Linked DNA regions of Homo sapiens: region 1 is linked to region 2. Evidence: promoter capture Hi-C in human tissues and cell types (Jung and others, 2019). All regions are on one chromosome and are shown on one strand. Each heading gives the region's core, a stretch centred on a gene start or on the middle of the fragment in contact. The rest is flanking DNA. Distances are from core to core; before and after follow the strand shown. Region 1 has its middle 18 kb from the start of ZNF135. Region 2 holds the start of ZNF418 (zinc finger protein 418).

Region 1 (3,799 bases), core at 1,257-3,756, 140 kb after region 2:
ATTTGCGTTACTTGTAAAACTGTCATGCCCATTAAATGCCCAAAAAAAGAGGCTGTTTCTGAAGACAGTCTCTTTGTTATAGTACACACATACTTTATATAGCAGCACACAGATGTATATATTTAGATACCGTATACATTCTTATAGAGAGGAGGAGGTTTAAGCTTTAGCTGTCCTTAGGAGAAGCCAAGAGTGACACCATGAAACCACACATCGCTGGCTCACATCTGAACTCAGTGATTTAGATTTCTGCTGGGAGGCTTTTCTGCCTTCAAAGGCCGCTCCATGCCATTTCTTTTTCTTTCTTTCTTTTTTTTTTTTTTTAAATCCTTAGGGTCTTACTCTGTCACCCAGGCTGGAGGGCAGTGGTGTGATCATAGTTCTCTGTAGCCTGGAACTCCTGGGCTTAAACAATCCTGCCTTAGCCTCCTTAGTAGCTGAGACTACAGGCATGCACCACCATGCCCAGCTAATTTTTTATTTTTTATTAAGACAGGGGCCCACTATGTTGTCCAGGCTGGTCTCGAACTCCCAGACTCAAGCAATCCTCCCACCTTGGCCTCCCAAAGCACTTGGATTATAGTCATGAGCCACCACTCCACCATGGTCCACGCATTTCTGTCACACACTCACCCCCAAGTTCTGTTTATTTTAGGAGAGTGAGGGCTTTAAAGGAAGGTCTCAGGGTTTACTGTCAAAGGAATTGATTCGTTTATTCTTCTCTTTGAGCCCAGAGTAAACAAGTATAAACCACACAGAAAATGCCCCTGGCCCTATGTGGGTTGCAAGTTAGTGGGCAAGATAGGCAAAGCAAGTCATCAGAAGAAAAGCAAGGTGAGTCATAGCGGAGAAAACACAGTAAGACGGGCCAGACGCAGTGGTTCACACCTGTAATTTCAACACTTTGTGAGGCTGAGGCGGGTGGATCACCTGAGGTCAGGAGTTCGAGACCAGCCTGGAGAACATGGTGAAACCCTGTCTTTACTAAAAAATACAAAAATTACCCAGGCATGGTGGCAGAAGCCTGTAATCCCAGCTACTCGGGAGGCTGAGGCAGAAGAATTGCTTGCAGTGAGCCGAGATTGTGCCACTGCACTCCAGCCTGGGCGACAAGAGCAAGACTTTGTCTCAAAAAAAAAAAAAAAAAAAAAAGTGATAAGATGAATACCAGCCCAGAGATGATAACAACTTGGGGATTATTGTGTTTGGTGAATGGGGTGAGGGACGTCACATTAAAACCATGGCATCAGGGCAAACCTCCGTGAAAAGACAGGCAGAGCCACAGCTGGAGAGACCTCCCCAGTACTGGGGCCTTGGTGAGGAGCTGGGGAGCTTAGATTTACCATGTCCCAGAAGCCACCCTCTCACTGAGCAGATTTCCCTGGCAGTTGCCCCCATCGCATGTGGCTGGTCCCTCAGGAGCCTGTGTCTCAAGAGCTACCTGGTCAGCCAGAGGCTGGACTTTGGAAAGCTGTTCATTTCATTGAGACATCTGGGAACCTTTCTACAAATTCATGTTCTCTCGAGTTGAGGGAAGGCTGGGCTGCACTATGTTTTGAGGCTCTGGCTTCATGGATTTGCCATGAAAGTAAGCTGAAACTCTAGGTCCCTCACTTTCAGGGATCCCTTCAAGACCAAGCGCCTAATTTTATCTTTGTAATTTTGAATTATTCTTCTGAAGAGGGACCCCTCAGTTGTGTGAGCCTTAGGCCCAACAAATCTGGATCGACCCCTGGTTCCAGCAACCCTCGTCTTAGAGACTTCTGCATGGACACTGGGAAGACAGAACCCAGCACTGCCAAGGGTAATGGATCTCCCATTTTGATGTGAGTGAAAACCACCTGAAGGTGGAGGGTGTTAAACCTGGGACCTTGCTTTGGTTGGTCCGAGGGGGTTTGGTAATCTGCACACCAAGGCACTGGGTGATTCTGAAACAGACCCGGAAGCCTCAAGTGAGAACTGTGCCCAAACTTCCTGAAGCAGTTTGTCTGCGAAGCCCATAGTTCCCAAGTGTGGCCCCATCCCAGGAGCCTCTCAGGTTGAAGGAACAGCTACTAATAAATCACTGACTTCACTGGACTCAGGGTAGGCAGAATGGAGTATCTGCCTTTCTTTGCATCAAAAGCACATCACCCTATCCTGTTCTGTATCTGCCTGAAGGAAGTCCACAGGGTATTCCCGAGACCCATCAGACACCTCACTCATTTTTTCATGATACCCAAGAGACACACTTAGAATGTACGCAGACTACACATATACCAAACACATTATACTCACATCTCATACCCTGAAAAATGACTGGGAGACATAAATACACTGAGATGTCAAAAGGAGTAGTCTGTTGCCCAGGCTGGAGTGCAGTGGCACGATCTCGGCTCACTGCAACCTCTGCCTCTGGGTTCAAATGATTCTTGTGCCTCAGCCTCTTGAAGTAGCTGGGACTACAGGCACGCACCACCATGCCTAGGTAATTTTTTTGTATTTGTACTAGAGTCAAGGTTTCACCATGTTGGCCAAGCTGGTCTTGAACTCCTGACTTCAGGTGATCCTCCCACCTGGGCCTGTCAAAGTGCTGGGATTACAGGCATGAGCCACAGTGCCCGGCCGAATCTGTGTTTTTAACTTTTACATAATTGGGAGAATTCTTTTTAAAATGGTGAAAAATGAACTTTATTATAAAAGCCCATGGCTGGGCGCGGTGGCTCACACCTAGCACTTTGGGAGGTTGAGGTGGGCAGATCACTTGAGGCCAGGGGTTCGAGACCAGTCTGGCCAACATGGTGAAACCCCATCTCTACTAAAAATACAAAAGTTAGCCGGGCATGGTGGCAGGGGCCTGTAATCCCAGCTATTCAGTACACCACGGCGAGAGAATCGCTTGAACCTGGGAGGCAGAGCTTCCAGTGAGCTGAAATTGTGCCACTGCACTCCAGCCTGGGTGACAGAACGAGGCTCTGTCTCAAAAAAAAAACAAAAAAAACTTTCAAAGGAATTTAAAAAACTGAAATAAATGTCCTCATAATTTCATGACCCTAACACAACTACTCTTTGCATTTCTATACTTTGTCTGCTAGGATTTGACAACTAATGCCCACTGTTTACACAGTTGCAACAGAATCAACAGTTACATTCTACTTGAACTACACTTACAAATTACTCTTCCAGCGCCGGGCGCGGTGGCTAACGCTTGTAATCCCCAGCACTTTGGGAGGCTGAGGCGGGTGGATCATGAGGACGTGAGTTTGAGACCAGCCTGACCAATATGATGAAACCCCGTCTCTACTAAAAATACAAAAATTAGCCAGGTGTGGTGGTGCGCACCTGTAATCCAGCTACTCCGGAGGCTGAGGCAGGAGAATTGCTTGGAGCTGGGAGACGGAGGTTGCAGTGAGCTGAGATCACGCCATTGTACTCCAGCCTGGGCAACAGAGCGAGAGCGAGACTCTGTCTAAAAAAAAAAAATTCTTCGATTTTGCTAGTCTTAATTATCATTTATGCCTTTTTACTATTGCTTTGAATGGCTCTACCATTCATATTTAAGTCATAGTATTTAACTTCATGCAAACCAGCATCCTTGTGTATATATATATTTTTGGTCCTTTTTTTTCCTTTTTGTGGAGGAAAAAGTGGGGTCTCACTATGTTGCCCAGGGAGGTCTTGAACTCCTGGGCTCAAGGGATCCTCCCACCTTGGCCTCCCAAAGTGTTGGGATTATAGGTGTGAACCACTGTGCCTGGCCCCGTATTGTTACTGAATACAGTTGGACTGTTAGCTTTCCAAAATGATTGCACTAGTTGAC
Region 2 (3,420 bases), core at 14-2,513:
AGTAAGAGTCCCAGGACATCACAAGCTAGAGAACATGTGAATGGGGAATAAGGCCAGTGAGGGAATGGAACACCCTCTAATTCCCTCTGTGGGTTCCTTTTTTTGAGCCAGAGTTTCGCTCTTGTTGCCCAGGCCGGAGTGCAATGGCTCACCGCAACCTCTGCCTCCCGAGTTCAAGCAATTCTCCTGCCTTAGCCTCTGAGTAGCTGGGATTACAGTCATGCGGCATCACCACGCCTGGCTAATTTTGTATTTTTGTTAGAGACGGGGTTTCTCCATGTTGGTCAGGCTGGTCTCGAACTCCCGACCTCAGGTGATCCGCCCGCCTCGGCCTCCCAAAGTGCTGGGATTACAGGTGGGAGCCACCTTGCCCGACCCCCTCAGTGGGTTCTTTACGTGCTTTTGTAGCCAGGAGTGTCTGAGGGGAAAGCAGACGTTACAAAGGGGATCTGATAAGCTCAGGTCTCCTTGAACCTTTTCTTATCGCTGGAGCCAGGTGACCTCAGACTGGTTGACCTGCGTGTCTCAGTGCAAAATGTCATCTCTACCACCTATGTGATCTATCAACAAAGGAGTCAACCTCCCAGAACCCTAAGGTCCTCATCTCCTCTACTATGTTCTTCCTTTGGCCTTTGGGAAACCTTAAAAGCCTGGACTTGGATCGCATCCCTCCTTTCTTCGAAACTCTCCATGGCTTCTAGCGTCTTCACAGCGAATACACAGCCCCCAGCCTGCTCTTCCAGGAGAAGCTTCGCCTCACACGTTGTTCCCTACAGGCGCCTGTGGACCCCAGGTTCCATCCTCCCGGGTCTGTCCTCCAGGCCATAGCCCGCGCCGGTCCCTGTGCCTGTCGCTCTCCCCACCGCATCCCACAGGTGTCAGAAACAAGGACCTCTCCCGCGAACGCCTCAGTGTCCCGACGCCGGGTCCGGGCTGCAGACCTGTGAACAGTCGCCGCTCTCTCGCTGCTTCAGGATTCGGGTTAGGATGAGGTGACCTGAGGGCAGGGAAGGCACAATTACCTGAGCCGGGAGCCTCAGCGCGGCCGCCGCCATCCCGAGTACGCGGGGAAAGCACTGCCGGGAGCGGCGGGCGCCGTTACGGGGCCTAAGATCTGCCTCTGTGCAGCAAGAAGGACTCTTCACCTTCTGGGTTCAGACACCGCGGTTCGGACCCATAGCTCCAGCGCCTCTCACCTCACAAACCGCAGAAACACACCCAACATTAACCAAAATGGTCGCTACCAGAGAACGCTGAGAATCCCGCCACTACGTTACGTGCGCACACAGAAACGCCTTTATTCTGAGCCCTTACTGGTTCTGTTGCGCTGTCATTCAATGTAGAGCTTTCTGGGTAATGTAGTTCCCCAGGTTCCAAGGTAGTAAAGCTGCCGCTTCCCAAAGGCGCTTCTGCAGGGAAGTCCCAGCCCTACCTCAGGGGGTTCATTAAAGCGCGTACCCTTTTAGGGCAGAGGATGGTCTCGCCCCTCCTTAGAGGCCATATTGAGATTCCTGGGGAATCCCTGTTTGTAACTGACCACCTAAGTGTTTGCAAAAATATTAATTCACATTTCTGTAAATTCAAGCTCCCAGGCGCTAAAAATACTGTGAAGGCCCCCAAAGGCTACAAATCCAAATTCGTGTATCACTTTATACAATCGTTTAGACACAGAATGCTTGCACTGGAAGCAGAGGCTGATAAACATTACTCTGTTATAATTCACATGAATGCACTCTTGTTACCGGATAGAATGTCTTGGCTGTGAGTTGTCCAGTTGTTGGCGCATTGAACAAAGAAGTGAACAAAACACACAAAAAAAGCAACGAAAGAACGGACCAATGAAAGCGCAGATTTATTGAGGGGAAAGTACACTCCACAGAAGTGGAATGTAGGTGTGGGAGCAGGCGACCAAGCGGCTCAAGAACCCCGATTACAATGTTTTTTAGGGTTTTATTAGGTTGGTGCAAAAGTAATTGCGGTTTTTGCCATGAATAAGCTAGAATTTTATAATACCCCAAGAGTTCTTTAAAGGCCTCCAATCCTATGAAGGACTGGTGCACAACCAATCAGAGGCTGAAGTGGAGACTTCTGTCTTGTTACCACAGGAGTGAGGACGTGGCCTGTGTGCTGCCTCATCTTGCCTAGAACTAGCTGCACCTGCTGTTCTTTTGCTTATGCCTTCATTCTTGGTTACCCTAATTCCCTATTCTCCTGCCTCACTCTGAGGCATTAGAGTTGGTTTTTCAGTCTGCCAGGGACAAAAGAGAACTAATCCAGATAGGACCATGCCAAGGAAGATAGAGGAGAGGCTAAAGAAAGAGTACAAAGGTCAATCAGTCGTTCCCATGGAAAAACAACTCTCCTGCTTATATAGTCAATTATTGTGTCCAATTCATTCAGCAAAACATTTATTCATGTAATATCCCTTACTTGGTATTCTAACTTATATTTTCAACTCATTTTAGGAACTTGAAGTCAGTCTCAGGTAAAGAACAATGAAAGAGAAATCTCAGCTTGGTATTGGTAATGGTGGTGATAATCTCCACCTGGAGACACTAGGCGTATGTTAAATTATCGAGCTTGTTATCTTTCCTGGGAAGTGATTATCATTTGTTTCTCTTGTGACAGCGGGGAGTGTTCTGCATGAGGAACTAATATGATACCAGAAAAACAGGTGAAATGCCAGTTACAGAAACTTATTACCAACGACTATCTAATAACTGCGATGACAGAAATAGGTCAATTGAAACATGAGTGGATGGTGAAAAAAATTTACACTTCACAGAAGTTTTTCTTTCTTTTTTTTTTTTTTTTTTTTTGAGACAAAGTCTCGTTCTGTCCCAGACTGGAGTGCAGTGGCGCCATCTTGGCTCACTGCAACCTCCACCTCCCGGGTTCAAGCGATTCTCCTGCCTCAGTCTCCCAAGTAGCTGGGATAACAGATGCCTGCCACCACGCCCAGCTAATTTTTGTATTTTTAGTAGAGACAAGGTTTCACCATGTTGGCCAGACTGGTCTCAAACTCTTGACCTCTGACCTGCCTGCCTCCTTCTCCCACAATGCTGACATTACAGGCATAAGTCACTGCTCCCAGCTGACTTTACAGGTGTTTGTTTGTTTGTTTGTTTGTTTTGAGAAGGAGTTTCACTCTTGTTGTCCAGGCTGGAGTACAATGGCACAGTTTCAGCTCACTGCAACCTCCTCCTCCTGGGTCAAGCAATTCATTCTCCTGCCTCAGCCTCCCAAGTAGCTGGGATTACAGGTGCCTGCCACCACACTCAGCTAATTTTTGTATTTTCAGTAGACACAAGGTTTCACCATTTTGGCCAGGCTGGCCGCAAACTCCTCACCTCAGGTGATCCACCCGAGGTGGCCTCCCAAAGTGCTGGGACTACAGGTGTGAGCCACCTCGCCCGGCCC

Evidence for each region. The method cuts DNA at HindIII sites, captures the fragments that hold promoters and counts their contacts. A contact is called where the count stands out against the background at its distance.
Region 1: a fragment that was not itself captured here is called in contact with the fragment with the promoter of ZNF418 in region 2 in 2 of the 25 tissues and cell types used here (bladder and heart right ventricle).

What each region holds. Positions count from the first base shown.
Region 1 is chr19:58,075,542-58,079,340 of GRCh38, forward strand. No RefSeq gene overlaps it. Among named protein-coding and RNA genes, the nearest start is that of ZNF135, 18 kb to the left of the region's middle. The HindIII fragment of the contact is 6,468 bases long and covers 1-3,799 here.
Region 2 is chr19:57,934,139-57,937,558 of GRCh38, forward strand. ZNF418 (zinc finger protein 418) reads right to left here and starts at 1,264. Exons shown (of 6, transcript NM_133460.3): 1 at 1,023-1,264. RefSeq lists enhancers at 667-1,549, 1,142-1,231. The HindIII fragment of the contact is 9,006 bases long and covers 1-3,420 here.